4 separate regions of the Homo sapiens genome follow, and regions 2, 3 and 4 are each linked to region 1. The links are contacts of gene promoters, found by promoter capture Hi-C in human tissues and cell types (Jung and others, 2019). All regions are on one chromosome and are shown on one strand. Each heading gives the region's core, a stretch centred on a gene start or on the middle of the fragment in contact. The rest is flanking DNA. Distances are from core to core; before and after follow the strand shown. Region 1 holds the start of ZNF532 (zinc finger protein 532). Region 2 has its middle 62 kb from the start of SEC11C. Region 3 has its middle 82 kb from the start of SEC11C. Region 4 has its middle 100 kb from the start of SEC11C.

Region 1 (3,975 bases), core at 844-3,343:
CATTCCCCCATTAAGGAAAAAAAAAAACCTACATGAACTGAACATGCCATGTTTCAATCTGGCCCCAGTGGCTTTTTCTCTGAAAGCAAACGTGTGTCTTTTACACCAGGGCTTTCTCCCCACCCCAGGGGGTGTCTTCCATCCTTTTGTGGCTCAGTTGAAGGCGAAAAGGGCTCCAAACCACTAACTAACCAGAGGAGAGCCCCTTCTTCCACCTCCAGGGAGAATTTCAGATTTAATTTGTCCGAAGATAGCGTGCTCTCTTCTTACTCATTTGCCATCATTACGAGGAAAACAAACCACCACCTTGGCTTCAAGATCCTGGGTAGAGGCTCACGGTCTTTTCAACCATCTTTGGCGAGGCCTTGCTTCCTTCCACTCGAGTAAGTCGCGGCTTGGGGCCACGGAAAGGACTGGGTGAGAGCCCGCAATGTCGTTGGAAAAAAGCAGCCCTCCCTGCGCCCCCTCACCAGCCCCACCACCCCGCTCCACTCCCGGGGCGAAGCCGCGAGCCAGCGGCCCCGTATGGGCGAGACTTGGCAGGTCCGCGGGGCGCCTTCTCGCCGCCGCCGGACTCGGGGCTCCGCAGCGGCCGGGCGTCGGCGCCCGCCGGCCGCGGGGCTTCGCGCTGCCGCCGCCCGGTCCCGGAGCTCCCTTCCCCCACCGGCCGCCCCCTCCCCCTCGCCCGCGCTCCCTTTTGTTCGCTCGCCGCCCGGGCCGAGCCGCCGCCGCCGCCGCCGCCCGGCCCGGCGGCGAGGCCGCTCCACCGCACACGCACACACAGACCCCGGCAGCGGGAACGCAGATGACACGCCCGTAACATGGAAGCCGCCGCCGCCGCCGCTCCGACGACAGCAGCAGCAGCCACAGCAGCAGCCGCCGGCGGCGCCGCGCTGAACAAAGGTCATCCGAGCTGCGGCCCAGACGCCCGGGCTTGACCGCCGCGAAGGCCAACCCCGGGAAGGGGGTGGGTGTGCGCCTCTGGGGGTGCGGGGCGGCGGGAGGCGGCCGGGGCGAACGAGGGGCGCAGGGCAGCCGGACCCAGGGGCGCGGGTGGGCGCCGGGCAGAGGCGGGGTGCGGCCCCTCGTGCCCACTCCTGCGGGCCGGGGTGAGCGCGTGAGGCTCAGGCCCCTGGGCCTGCCCGCAGTGGCCTGTCCCACCCTGGCCTTGGGGACAGCCGGCCTTCGCGCCCCGCCAGCTGGCTTGGGGGGCCGAGGAGGAACCGCCCGGGCTAGGCCCCGCAGGTTACGAGACGGGGGCCACGTGAGCGCGGCTCTCCTACTCCCCCCGCCGGCGCCGGCCGGGCACAGATGCGTTTCCAGAGGCCTCCGTGCCCCCTCTCCCACTGGCCCTGCCTTCGCCCCCCGCCCCCTCCCCAGACAGCCCCAGTTTTCTTCCCCCGAGGTGAAGGGATTTGGACTTCTCCCCCCAGGTGCTTGAAAGAAGAGAAGGTTGGAGGAGGAGGAGGAGACTGGGGGGCTGCTGGTGGTGGTGACAGGGCTGGGAGAGAGAGGAGAGGGACGGAAGGGAGGAGGGGGCTGGGTGGGGTGGGGGTGACAGCAGAGAGGAGCCTGGTCAACAAGCCAGCACCACTGTGCTAGGAGGCCAGGCCGGCTCTGCAGCCGACGCATCCCGTGTGAGCAGACACACATAGCTCGCTTTCTTGGGGGCTCTTTGTCAGCCACCAACACAGAGAGCACACACTGACACACACGTACACAAAGATCTGAGCCAGGTTGTGGGAGGTAAGTGGGGGAAGGAGAAGGAGGGGGAAACAGTGTCTGCGGTGGGCTGTGGGGTGGAGGGGAGGGGGGATGGGCCCTGAGGGGCTCTGGGGTGCTTGCGAGGTGAGCATTTCCAAGGCTGTGTGCTCGTGGGGTGGGGGGACACACGATGACCTTCTCCTCCTCAGGAAGACCTAAGAGGGAAGAGCAAACCCCAGCGAGATCCCCCCTGTGCTGATGATTTTCAGGGACTTGTTGGCAACTCAGCGAGGGTTGCCATAGCTTTTTTATGTAGGGTGACCAGAACCGGCTGAAACTGGTTTGAGGCAGATCAGCTCCTGAACACAATGCAGTCACTGAGCTACTACAGTAGGATAGCAGCTTCCTCCCTTCATGGCAGCCAAAAGCAGAGGAGCTTGCAGGAAGGTACCATCCCTACACAGTATGTGAATGCACACTTAGACACCACACAGCACTGGTACGTGACTAATGGAGCCCTAAAAGATTCTGGGTAGAGAAGATGGAAAAAAAGGTGCAGGTTTGCAGGGTCTGAGATTACTTGGGCTTTTCCTGCCTTTTTCTTTTGCTTAAGGGATGGACAAGGAGCTGAGATTTATGACCCTTATTAGAGAAAAAAATGTGCCTTGCTAGGGTGGGGACACTTGGTTGATGCAGTCTCTCTCTCTCTTTCTCGGTGTTTATAACAAAACAAAACCAAAATGAACTGAGGGGTTTGTAATGGTAGTTTGTTTGTTGCTGGAGAATGCTACTTTGCATGCTTTTTTTCTCTTGCAGGGTATGTTCTGTCTTGTGCTTTTTCTTTTAGAAGCTACTAAAGGGTGTTGGGGATGCTTCTGACTATTATGAAGGCCAAAAGGTAACAATATCGTTCTAGGAAATGAACATAAATGCATTCCAGTGATGCTGTTAGCCATACATGCTGTCTTTTTTTTCCTTGTAGGCCTGTTGACTGGGGCTGCTTTTAACCCTTTCCTATTTGCTGAGAATGCAGCCGTGTGACAGTAACTGAACATTGGTCTAAAGTCTTTCCAAAAGGTCAAGGTTCACAAGGTGAGATACGCTGTTTTGAGCATGAATTTAAATATTTATTTGCAGATCCATTTAGACACAGACGGACCGTGGATTGCTACCCAGGAGATAAAATTGGGTTCAGAGTGGAGAAGAAATGCTCTTAATGTTATCCCAGTTTAATGGGATTAGAGTGACTTTATGATGGTATTGCGATCAAGGCGAAATCTGAATGCCTTCATTAAATCGCATGTGTCTGGGCAATTGGGAGAGTCAGGCCTGGAAGGAAGCGAGTGTGGAGAATGGTAGGCGTCAGGGCCTTGTGGAGAATGTGCTGTTTTGCATAAGACGAAAGCAGTACACATGTGGCATTTTCCCGATGATTATAAGAAAAGGAAGGGCTTCACCAAATCGAGGCAGCCTAGCCACCTTTTTAGGATTTGAGGAGTCTGAAGGTAGATTTGCCTTTTGTTCATTCATCACCTTTCTTTTACCTTGCTCTCTTGTGTTAACCTGAAAGGTTTTTCACTCCGACTCAAGTGGTGGAATGTCTTTTATTGATTTTGGGGGCTGTTGACGGTGAGTTCGCCATTGGATTCTTTGTGGCATATGTTTAATGTGGAATACTAATGCAATACCAGGGGGAAGCCGGGTAGTCTGGCTTCATCTGTGAAAAGATGCCTGTTAACTCAAAGCTGTACTGGAATGGGTGGTAGAAAATGTCTGATGCCTTTAAAGATCGCAGTTAGGTTTGAGCAGGCATTTTAATGCACCTTCCAAAACCAGAGGTTGGAGAGGAGAGGAGAGAAGGAAGGAGTGAGGAGAGTAGCAAAGTGAAGAACAAAGGCTGAGGGGGCTTGCAGGAGAACACTCAACATTTTGCCTTGGGTTCCTTGTGAAAAGAACTGCAACTTCCCCAAACAGGAAACCAGCAGCTCCAGAATGGGATCCAGTGTGATCTCAACAACAGATAGAACTGGTCCTGCCTTTCTGCTGGTTTTTGGTAAAAGTACAGTCAAGAGGAGCCCATAGAAGACATGACTGAAAATAAAATTTTCCCCTACTTCGAAGTGGGCATTTTGTTCCTCTCCGTGTTCAGCAGAATAGGGGCTTTTCAGCAGTGCCGAGGATCTTGGAATTGGTTAAGTTGTGTGCTGGCAGTTGGTGGGCAGGATATCTGCAGTGAAGGACGTCAAGTATGCAAGGGTTTTATTGTTAAAA
Region 2 (3,975 bases), core at 824-3,323, 210 kb after region 1:
AAGAAATATCCAATAAAAAATGTCAATAGTGCCCAGGTTGAGAAACCCTGGGTTAGAGAATGATGGTGATGATTGGATCACTGAGTCCACACCAGCCAGGAACACTCAGGTGTGAAGGGCTGTCAGCACTTAGATAAGTAACACTGGGCCATCCTGTGTTAAACTTGGCAAACATACCCTGGCCAAGAGAGACGAGTCTATCGGAGGAAACTTGACTGAGTGTGCCAAACAGTCTAATTTTTGCTCTAATCACAATAGGAGGAGGAGGAAGTGCTGTCAGTGCTTTTTAATCAGATCTCATTTCCATGCTAATGACCCCTACCAAGGATGATTTGTATTATGTGCTGTTTCCAAGGGCACACACCATATTTTCTAGTCCCTAACAAATGATCAGCTAATTTCCGTGTTTATTAAAAATTTCATGCCCTCTTTACTGATGCAGGGTAAAAGTGTGTTTCTGTTTCCTCCTTTGTAAAAAGATAAAATTTGGCCAGATTAGAGCCTGCTGGTCTGTACAGGCTGGTGGCAACGGAATCACCCAAAGAGCTTTTTAAAAATCTAGGTTCCCAGGATCTACTCCTGGAGATTTCCAGATTGGAGTGGGGCTTAGGAATCTGTGCTTTTTTTTTTTTTTTTTTTTTTTTTTCCAAAACTTCCAAAAGGATTCCAATGAGCCACAGGACTCAAGGAGTGACAGGATTCGTTCTACATCACGGTCTCAGTTGATGACATTCACGTGCAAATAGCAACTTCTCCAAGACATGCACAGTCTTTGGCCCAAAGTCAGCTTTCTTACGCCCAAAGGGCTTCCCTAATAGGCCCCCTTTGGGAGCCATAGTCATTCTTTCAAGCGGCCAGGTACCCTTTGGCCAAAGATCTCTTCCATTATGGGTTCGTCCAGGAGCTTGGGGCACTTGCTCTCTGACAGCAGCCTCCATTCATTAACGGACTCAGGCCAGTACCAGTGCTCACTCATTCCTTTGTATGTTCAAGAAATATGTATTTGTTCCTGCTGTGTGCCAGTTACTGAGCTAAGCAGTAGGAACACTATGTAGAGAAACACAGGTGCAATTTCTGCTCCCTTTGACCTTATAGTGAGTGCCCTGCATGAGGGTCATGATAATCACACCAAAAATACCTAATTTCAACTTAAGTGAGAACTGTGAAAGCCTGACCCTAACTAGGAGGCCTGAAGTGGAATTTCTGAGAAGCTAGCCCTAAATTGAGATTTGTAAGACAGTGATACCTAGTATTTATTGAGGGCTCATTATATGCCAGGTACCTTCCTAAGCACTTTACAGAAACCAAGGCATTTAATCCTAATACAGCATGCACATAAACACTATTATCCTCATCTACACATGGAGAAACTGAGGCACAGAGCTATGTCATTGGTGCAAGGCCAATGGTGGGGGCCAGGTGGGGGCACCAGGATATGAATCCAAGCAGTTCGAATCCAGAGCCCATATGCTCAGCCACCATGTCCTGATGGGTTAACCAGGCAGGGGGTTTATGAGCAATTCTTTCCAGAAGTTTGACTGTGAAAAGCAGGAGAGAGATCGCTGGAAGCTGGAGTGTGATGTGGGCTTGGAAGGTGAGAAAGACTTAGGACATTTGCACTCCTTGAGGATTCTGTGAGGTATTTTATGTTTCCTCAATGCTTGAAGGAAGATGAGGACTAAGGAAGCTTAAAAGAGGGTCTTACCACCAGACCTGGGGGACCGAGGCCTCCTCCAAATGTGCTGCTTTTTCCCCATTGTCACACAGCCTCCCTGTATCTCCCCGGGAGGCCCCCTTGTTCCCTCCAGTTGTGCAAACATGTTCAGGATCTTCATGGATCTGGACCAGAGACAATAGAGGACACTTACAGAGACTGGCACTCTGTGGTTTTCAGATCCACGCTGGGAATGGGATGGACTTGTGAACAGTGAGCTGGTGATATCTTCCTCTGGTATCAGATGAGGCTCACAGCCTCATAAAAGCTTCTGAGACATGTAGAGACCCTTTCTTGGGAAACATCTTATTTTACAGAAGATGAACCTGAGACCAATGGGCTTCAAACAAATCAGCAAATCTGGTCATGTTGGACACAACAAATCAGTGTCCAGAACCCAACAGAACCCAAGTCCCATGAGATATTTTCTTTAACTCTAAACAAATCCCCTACTACAATCTCTGGGCTAGAAGGGCAGTCATTCTCCTTGATATCCTTTTATAAAACCCCTGCGAGAAACAGGGGAAGTCTGTTAAGGTTTTAGATACTCTACACTTCAGTGCTTACTGGATTGGGAGTTTGGAGAAGCACTGTCTAGCTGTTAATTACATTTTAAAAGTTCAAACTACTGCGTTCCATTGTGGTCTGACATATAGACACTTTGTTGCTGAAGCTAAGCATTCCCAACCGCAGAAATTTGACTTTTCAGTTGCTACTTGGTATGAATAAAGTAAGCAGGTTGTGATGACTATGGTGATGAGGGTAAAGGGTTTGAGGGGGTGGAGGCTTAGGTGAACATCAGCAGGAATCTGCTGAGGGGAGGTGGCATGGTGGGAATGGAGGGATCAGGGAAGATGGGAATGCCATTGTCTGTGTTTGCCTGAAAGGCTGCAGAAAACCACAGGACAGGCTGAAACTGGAGGGAGCAGGAGGACGCTTTCTCCACGCTGGAAATGGATCTGCAGTGGGGAGCTTCTCTGGCCCCAGACTGTGCCTTCCCAGCTGGCAGTCTGGGAGTTGCTTCCCTTTTAGGATTTTTCAATCTCAACCTCTCCTCAGCGAGGAGTGGACCAATAAACCCATGATCTTCAGCTTTCTGTTCTCCAGCTGTCAGCCTTCTTCATCATGATGACTTCTGGCAGGGCAAAGAAGGAAGACCCAACCCACTCCATTCTTGGAAGGGAAGATTTCTTACATGAATGCCGAGGCTACACTGAACTGGCATATGGTTCTTCTGTAGAGTTTTATGAGGTTTAAGGCTACATCTTGCAGATATGGGGGCTACGGCCACTAAAAAGAGATTGTTCCTGGGGCCAGACACTAGGAAAAAGGAAGTCCTTAGCCCAGGAAACTGAACTAAGAGGGCAGGCTGTGGATAGTTGAGAGAGACAGAGAATAAAAAAGAGAACTACTTTCTTTTTGTTCAAGATCAGATTGTCACAAAATTTAGTGAAGACAAAGATTACTTGGGGATGTTGATAAAAATACATTTCCTGACTCCTACATACTAACAAAAACAAGTAAGCGATTCTGATGCCTACACTTCAAGAAACACTGATATTGACATTAAGGGCCTGGATGTCCCAAAATATGCTCCTAGAGGTAGAGGATACGAAAACAGCACCATTGTGTGGAGCAGGATGTGGAGAAGGGAGCGATGACGATGAGGATGCTGCTAAGGTCAGATACTTCCATGGAAGGTGCCTGCTCCAGGGCAAAAAAAGCAGCAAAAGGTTGCTGCCTGCCTTGCTTCTGTCTCTTTATCCAGCCACCCTGTGCTTGCTCAGCAGGATTATCAGCAAGGTGGCATGCTGGCTGCATGGGGAGAGGCTGGCTCATAGCCAAAGAATCATGCTCATCCTGCTCACCTGAGAATTAAGAGCCTTATGTGCGGTGCTCTTCCATGATAGTAACGAGGGACACAATTATTGCCACACTTGGGGCTTATTCTGAGAAGGTCTTCCATACAACTTGCCCCAGGCCTTGTCAAGAATTCCTCCAGTCTCACTTCTTCCAAGCTGTTAGTCATCTAGCTAAATGGTTAGCTGCTGCCTGGGAATTAGTGAAGATCTATATATTTGGCCATCTCTTCTTCCAGGAATTCAAAGTTCTACCCATTACAAGGATTTCTCTGTCCTGCCAGAGCTACCCCTGAATGGGGCTATAATATTGTATCAACTTTCAGATGATTGCGTGGCACCTTCTGTAAACCAGGCTGAATGTTTTCTTAGTCAACTGATCCCAGGAAACCAGCCGTGAGG
Region 3 (3,975 bases), core at 486-2,985, 190 kb after region 1:
GGTTCTGCAGGCTGTGCAGGCTTCTGCTTCTGGGAAGGCCTCAGGAAACTTACAATCAGGGCAGATGGGGAACCAGGCACATCTTAATATGGTGGGAGCAGGAGGAAGAGAGCAAAGCGGGGAGGTGCTACACACTTTTAAACAGCCAGATCTCATGAGAATTCACTCACTATCACAAGAACAGCAAGGGGGAAATCCATCCCCACGATCCAGTCACCTCCTATCAGGCCCCACTTCAACACTGGGGATTACAATTCCACATGAGATATGGGCAGGGACAAAGATCCAAACCATACCATCCTCCTTCTCGATCCTCTCTCCCCTGTGCTTGGAGTGGGTCCACCCCGTGTCCCACCCTGCCTTTGACAGTCCTCTCTCCCAAATCAACCACCACTTGTATCCATATCGGGTTTCATAGATGACAAGGGACGTTCCCAGGCATGGACTCCTTTTGAGCTGCATAGTAAGCCTCAGGGTGGGCAGGCGAGGATGCGATTACTGTTCCTGTCTAGACCAGGAAACTCAAGCTCAAGGCCCTGCCCGGTGTGGCACAACTAATGGATGGTCAAGACCGAGGCTGCCTCAGGTCCTCCAGCCCCAGCCCCGCTCTCCCTGCCACTCATCAGCCTCTCAAAAGCAGGGCCTCTCAAAAGCAGGAAGTACCTCTGATGGTCAGGATTTCCAGCCTTTCGTGCCATAGGAAGCGCATGTGTGGGGCAAGAAACTGAAGGGCACTCCTCTCCGTATCCTCTCTTCTTTGCAGGAGTACACAGATCCTCATCCTCCTTGGGGCCATGCTGTTCTTGGCATCTTTCACAGCCACTGCTCTGATCACCTTGGCATATAAACTTCCTGTCGTGGCTCCATCAGAAACCAGGTAATGCGGTTCCCCAGCCTGCCCCTTTCTGGCCAGGACTTCCCGGGGAGGGCTGCTGAATGCCAGGCTGTTCACCCTGTGCCCTTTGGTTCATGGAAAAAGTGGGTATGAAACTTTTGGTCTGGATGGGAAAGCTGATTGCCTTCTTGCTTCCAAACTTCTGAACCTTTCAACCTGCACTGGTAGGTCCTCTCTGAACTCAACGTTGCCCATTGAAACGCTTCCCAGAGGAAGGAGCGCCCCCATGTGGCTGTACTGTGTTTCTCCTCCAGCAGCCAATTGCTGCTTGGTGGCTCTGTTGGATGGAGAGACTGAACCTACCTCTTCAAGGTCACACAACTAGTAGGTGGCACAGGTGTGATTTGAACTTAGAAGCCAATCCACAGTGCTATTTCCCCTCCCCAATGAGGCATGTATGACACTTACACAGGAAAAACTGTTATGATTACCTGCTAATCTTCTCTCAATGCAGTGACACAAATGAAAATCAGATTATGTCAGTCATCTGCTTGAATTCCTCCAGTGGCCTCATTGGTCACCCTCCTACCTGCTGACACTGGACCAGCCACACCAACTCATCTCAACGCACCAAGCACGCTCCCCGAACCCCCTTCCCCACCCTCCCCAACCCGGGGCCTTAGCACTTGCTTTTGAGCCTGAATTACTCTTCTGTTAAAATCTAAGATCTTGGCAGGGCTTTCTCCTTCACATCTTTCAGGTGTCTGTGCAAATGTCACCTTCTCAGAGCAGCCTTTGCCGATCTTCCAAAATAAAATGGCCAGAACCGTTCCTGGTATGTGAGTGTTCCATGTGAATCTGTGAGTGGGTGGCATATGAGAATAAATGAATGAATTGGTGACAACATCCCAAGCCTCCTGACCAGGAGACTATCATGCCCTTCCCATATCATGGCATGGTGAAGTGATTGAGGAGGAGGCTCACTCATGTCCAGCCCAGCGGTTTTCAACCCTGGCCACATATTAGAGTCACTTGGGAGCTTCTAAATCTACTGATGCTTTCATCCCCACCCACCTCCGAACAATTGAATCAGAATCTCTGGGCATGGGGCCCAGGCAGCGGACTTTTGTAAGCATTCCCAGGGTGCTTACAAATTCTAATTTGCAGAATAAATTCTTATGTGCAGCCACAGTTGAAGAACCATACGTCTAGTCCTCAAACACCTTCCCTTCCTCCAGTGGTCCCTGCATGGGCAGCTAGGGGCTGAGAGTGCGTCTAGCTTCAGTGGGGAATGGTGATAATTTTAACGGTGATAAATTTAAAGCAGGGGTTCTCAATCTGCCTTTGGGAAACTCAGGAGAGTTTTAAAATTTCTAGTCCCTGAGTCCATGTGCAGAGATGATGATTCCCTGGGCTTGGGTATAACCTGGATGCCTCCCGTGAATGGCACTGTTTAGGCAAAGCTTCTCAGCCTTGAGGGGGTATCAGGGTCACCTGGAGGGCTTCTTAACACACAGATGGTTGAGCCCACTGCCAGTAGGTCAGGGTGGGGCCCATGAGTCTGGGTTCCTAATAAGTTCTCAGGTGATGCAGGTGTTTTTTTTTTTTGTCTGTGTTTTTTATTCTATTGCAACAGAGTCTCACTCTGTCATCCAGGCTGGAGCACAGTGGCATGATCACCGCTCACTGCAGCCTCAACCTCCTGAGCTCAAGCGAACCTCCTGCTTCAGCCTCCTGAGAAGCTGGGACTGTAGGCATGTGCCTCCAGGCCTGGCTAATTTTTTTTTTTTTGTAGAGTTGGGGTCTCTCTATGTTGCCCAGATTGGTCTCAAACTCCTGGGCTCAATGATCCTCTTGCCTCGGCTTCCCAAAGTGCTGGGATTACATGTGTGAGCCACCATGCCTGGCCTGACGCAGCTGTTGATGTCAAGGGATGAAACCTTGAAAAACACAGCTTCAAAGAATAGTTTTTGGTGTCCTTTTAATAGCCTGGCCTGGACCTCTCATCACTTCTCTCTCAGGACAGTCTCTGTCCTTGGGACCCTTGGGTTCACATCTGGGTGCTACATTTTTAGAACATTCTGACATATTGGCCACCAGACACAGCTATTTAAAATGAATACACTCATGATATTTCCTTGGGATCTGGGGTGGAGGGGCCTGAGGGAATTTGGAACCTAAACAAGCCAACTTTGGCTGAGGTGGGGCCATGAGGTCACTGTTTGCGCACCATGACTAAGGAAATGAACAAGTGTGCCCTAAATGTACCTTTGGGCTTGCTGATTATTCCAATGGACATCTCAGGGATTTGGATTCCCTTTGCCATGTCCAGATCAAACATAACATTTTGGCTTATTTCCTTGTATTTTTCAGTGAAGAGGCGATTGTATTGTATTTCGTGGAGTACTACACAAAGCCCTACTGCCGATTTGGGCCAGTTCTTGTGGGCCTCTTTCTGAGCATTTACATGCACCAAAACCACCAGGAAAACATTCTCAGAACCAAGGTATGATTTCCCGTGCCTCACTCTATGGGCATGGGTCTGGCTGGGACTGTGTGGCCCACCTGGCCAGGCTCTTCCAAAGCTGTGGATGAAGCAGTCAGCCTGCTGGGTACTGTATTGTGCTGTAGAGTGTTACTGATGTCTCTCTGTGCTAAAGAATCAGAAGGAATTGGCCAGGTGCAGTGGTTAACACCTGTAATCGCAGCACTTTGGGAGGCTGAGGCAGGAGGATCCCTTGAGTCCAGTTCAGGACCAGCTCAGGCAACATGGTGAAACCCCTGTCTTCATTTTTTTTTTTTAATTTAAAGATAAGGCCTTTATCTTCCTGCCAGAGCTTGATTCTCTGCTTTCTTCACTGACCTCTCCTTATGATCCTCCAGATTTGGAACCCAGTGTGGTCCCATCTGTAGGAGCTTTGGTACTGACCCAAAGAAACCACCAATGTGAGAAAACATACCCAGTGAGATTACAATGGCAAGACTTTCTTCTGGAAGAGGATACTGAGTTGGGTTGGATTTTTAACAGCACATGCTCAGTGGTTTCTATATACAAGATTCTTGGTCAGATTTGATGGTTGTGTCTGGGAATCAGGACGTGAGGTGTCTAGAGGGGAAGCTGTTACTTTGCTTTTCCAGAT
Region 4 (3,975 bases), core at 453-2,952, 170 kb after region 1:
ATACATAGCTATGGATTCAGCCCCTGGGCAACAGGGCTCTTACTTAACGGCCTGTTGCTTAAAGTGGGCTCACTGTGATTGAGCAAACCGGAAGTGGCTGCAAAGTTTTTTAGAGCATTGTCACAACCAATGGGTCTTCAACTTTGGAGTGCATCAGAGTCACCTGGAAGACTATTACAGCACAGATTCCTGGGCCCTGACCCAAAGACTCTGACCTGGTAAGTCTGTGGTGGGGCCTGGGAATCTGCATTTCTAATAAGTTCCCAGGTGATGTTGAAGCTGCTGGCTCAGAGACCTCTGCTTTGAGAACCGGTGATTGCATGCATCATTTCAGCCAATCCTCCCCACGTTCTTATTGTTTATAACACTTTCCATTTACAAATGAGCTAAATGAGCCTCAGGGAGGTTGTCCTCCCTCTAGACCAGTTATTTTCAGAAACCTTTATAAACCACTGATGGGTAAGTTCATTCACTAGCAGAATTTAGATGGAAAAAACATAGTAACAAAACATATTGAGCACTAGCTTGCCACATGAGGCATCAAACCAGATATTTGATGTTCTAGAATCCCCATTACAACCCTACCAAAAATTATACCCATTCTAAAAGCGAGGAAACTGAGGCTCAGGGAGGCTAAAGAAGTTGGCCAAACCTGGCAGAGCCCGGGTCCTGTATCTCTCCACTGCTCGGGAAACTGAGGAGGAGCAGGTGAATCAGCTCTAGGAGGCTGCTGGTTGTGCTGTAGTTGTGGCCAATTCCTGAGTGAAAACCCCTGTGAATGAAAAGGGTGGGTGTGGTGACTTCAGACAGAGACGCAATCACAAAGTGACTTAAATGGAAAAACTTGTATTCACGGCTGGAACTTCAAAATGTTAGGTAGTTAAATTCTTCAATTTAAGAAATTGCCTTAGATTTCCAGAGTTTGGTTATGAGCCAGACCTCATTTGTGAATAAGTTTTAATTCTGCAAAGACTTCTTTGTGCCCACAATGTTGAAGGCACGGGGCTCTGTCCAGGAGGAAATGTGAGTCTCTCAGAGCCGGCTTGAGCTTGGAGGCCCCTGTTTTGCAATTCCAGACACTTGCTTCGTTCTCAGATAGGTAAACATTAAATTCTTTAAGAAAGGGAATGAATTAAGAAGATGGTATTAACCATTCTTAAAGTGATAGGGCTTAAAACAGTGGTAGTAGTAGCTGTGTTCTCACGAGTACATACTAGGTTGCCTCTATTTAATGTGATTTATAAGCATTATCTCATTTGTTCTTCATGATAATCCTTTAAAATCTACTTTGATTATTTTGCAGATGTGGAAACTTAGACACAGAGAGGTTAATTCACTTGCCGGGGGTCACAGAGCTGATAAATGACAGAATCAGAGCCAGGAGCATCTGGCTATATGGCCTGTGCCCTAAGCTCCTGTGCCACTGGTCCTTCTGTTTTCATGCCTATACTTTGACCTACGTTAGGGTTGTTATTCATTATTATTATTATTATTATTATTATTATTATTATTATTTTTGAGACGGAGTCTCACTCTGTCACCCAGGCTAGAATGCAGTGGTGCAGTCTCAGCTCACTGCAACCTCCACCTCCTGGGTTCAAGTGATTCTCCTGCCTCAGCTTCCGGAGTAGCTGGGACTACAGGCATGCACCACCATGCCCGGCTAACTGTATTTTTAGTAGAGATGGGGTTTCATGTTGGTCAGGCTGGTCTCAAACTCCTGACCTCAAGTGATCCACCTGCCTCGGCCTCCCAAAGTGCTGGGATTACAGACGTGAGCCACCGCACCTGGCTCATTATTCATAAGTAACTAGTCCTCAGGATTGCAGGGGTGTTCTTTCAAGTGAAAGTCTTGCTTTGTGTATCACATCGATTCTTACTGATGTCTGCGTTCTCCTTCCCTCAACTCTTCGTCAAGCAGGACTGGGGTCAGGGGTTGGCATCTCTGGGGCCTGAGCTTGGGCAGCGTATTCTGTGCAAAGCATGTGGGGCACCAAACTCAGGTCAAGTCTGTTAGGGAAAGTCAAGATTCAAAAGGGAGGGATACCAAGTATGAAAGTCCACAGATAGATGAAGATGGAACCACGGAGGCTGAGCTGAGAAGCCCAGGGTCAGAGCAAGAGAGCCTCCGAGTAACTGCCAAGATCTGTGGATTGTGCTTTGGTTCTTGTTGCGGGGTGGTGTGTGGATACCCTGGCAGTCAAGGTGGACAGTAACATCTTTGCTCTTGCCCAGGGTTTCTAGGAGCCGTGGCTCATGCTCTGGAGTGCTTTTCTTGGCAGAAGAATGTGCCAGCCATCTGGACTACAAAGGCACCAGGTGGCACCTGCTCTGCACTGAATGGCATTCGTGTCTTGAGTCTTCTTTGGATCATCTCGGGACACACCAGTCAGATGACTGCATGGCTGTCTTTGGGTGCGGAGAGTTGATGAGCCTTTACTCTAGGAGCAGTCAGGGAAGAGACATTCTTTGGTATGGCGGGATCACGTTGGCCAAAGGATGGGAGACTGGCAGCCTTCCCACGAGCAGACTTCCTTCTGTTTTAGACACACTGTGTGTAACCTCCCATCAGTAAGCTTTCCAGGCCAGTGTCTAGTGGCTCCTTTCACTCCCTCTAGGTATAAATCAGGTACCTGGCTGCCAGGTATATAGTGATACCTGGGTATTGTATTTTCGTTATCCAAAGAGCCGAATTCTCTCTCATCATGGTTAGTGAAGCCAGGACCTAACATTTATTTTTCCTTGAAAAGCAGACAAGCATAAACATGGTCCACTAATATCAAATCAGTGTTTCTCCACCTTCTCCCTGCTGCTACCCTCCTGAAGCGCTCCTATCAATAATAGTGGTACTCTCTAAATAGGGAGTAAACACAGCCCAGGGCAGATTGAAGAAGCCTCCCGGGTGGTCTGCACCAGCCCATGAATAGGTGGTGCTACAGTCCAGGGGGGCTGTGGCCACCGTGAGTGCACAAAGGAGCTCAAAGCTCCTGAACGACCAGTAGGGACCTCAGTCACTGCCTTTTATTCCCAGTCTAACTTCTCCTTCGACATGAATTACATTGATTCTTCTTCTTTTTTTTTTTTTTTTTTCTTGAGACAGAATCTCACTCTGTCACCCCCAGGCTGGAGTACAATGGCATGATCTCGGCTCACTGCAACCTCCACCTCCTGCGTTCAAGTGATTCTCCTGCCTCAGCCTCCCAAGTAGCTGGGATTATGGGTGCCCACCACCATGGCTGGCTAATTTTTTGTGTTTTTAGTAGAGACGGGGATTCACTATGTTGGCCAGGTTGGTCTTGAACTCCTGACCTCATGATCTGCCTGCCTTGGCCTCCCAAAGTGCTGGGATTACAGGCGTGAGCCACTGTGCCTGGCCTATAGTGATTCTTAAAGCCTGCCCAGCACAACTGAAAGTCGAAGGTGTTCCTCTTGCTTTTTCTGAAAAGAGAAATCACATGATTTTCTTCTATGAAACAAAAAGACACTGCTTTTTAATGTTTGTTACAGATAATGTGCTTGAATGGAACAGCAGAGTGCTTAGAAACCCACTGTGTGTTTACTCTTGGAGTGGTCCCTTCTATCTTGGAGTTGATACATTTTTCCTGATCAGGTAATAAGGTTGAACTACGTTTTCAGTGCTGTAGGGCTTGTGGTGTTTGTTTTGGGATATGTGTATGCATATGTGTTACCATTCTCACTCTAATGAGAAAAGCGGAATGACCCACATTTATTCATCTGAGCCTTTGTCCATTTCTAGACAGTACTGTTGTCACAGGAGACTCTCCACTGTATCTTCCGTTTATTACATGAGTTAGGATGGCTCTATAACACAGGCCTTTTAAACATTGATTGTATTCATCAAAATTGTTTATTTCAGTGCTTCTCAAATTCTGGCCCACAGAGTGGTACAGGTGCTTGATGAAGTTCCGACTTCTCACTATAGTGAAATGGGAAAAATTCAGAAAATGGCATGAT

Evidence for each region. The method cuts DNA at HindIII sites, captures the fragments that hold promoters and counts their contacts. A contact is called where the count stands out against the background at its distance.
Region 2: a fragment that was not itself captured here is called in contact with the fragment with the promoter of ZNF532 in region 1 in 1 of the 25 tissues and cell types used here (hippocampus).
Region 3: a contact is called between a fragment that was not itself captured here and the fragment with the promoter of ZNF532 in region 1, in 1 of the 25 tissues and cell types used here (dorsolateral prefrontal cortex).
Region 4: a fragment that was not itself captured here is called in contact with the fragment with the promoter of ZNF532 in region 1 in 2 of the 25 tissues and cell types used here (liver and lymphoblastoid cells).

Annotation. Positions count from the first base shown.
Region 1 is chr18:58,862,784-58,866,758 of GRCh38, forward strand. ZNF532 (zinc finger protein 532) reads left to right here and starts at 2,094. Exons shown (of 10, transcript NM_001375912.1): 1 at 2,094-2,602; 2 at 2,687-2,796. RefSeq lists an enhancer at 1-91. The HindIII fragment of the contact is 28,079 bases long and covers 1-3,975 here.
Region 2 is chr18:59,075,895-59,079,869 of GRCh38, forward strand. No RefSeq gene overlaps it. Among named protein-coding and RNA genes, the nearest start is that of SEC11C, 62 kb to the right of the region's middle. The HindIII fragment of the contact is 3,871 bases long and covers 139-3,975 here.
Region 3 is chr18:59,056,277-59,060,251 of GRCh38, forward strand. It overlaps the pseudogene OACYLP. Among named protein-coding and RNA genes, the nearest start is that of SEC11C, 82 kb to the right of the region's middle. The HindIII fragment of the contact is 4,187 bases long and covers 1-3,829 here.
Region 4 is chr18:59,033,433-59,037,407 of GRCh38, forward strand. It overlaps the pseudogene OACYLP. Among named protein-coding and RNA genes, the nearest start is that of SEC11C, 100 kb to the right of the region's middle. The HindIII fragment of the contact is 3,889 bases long and covers 1-3,647 here.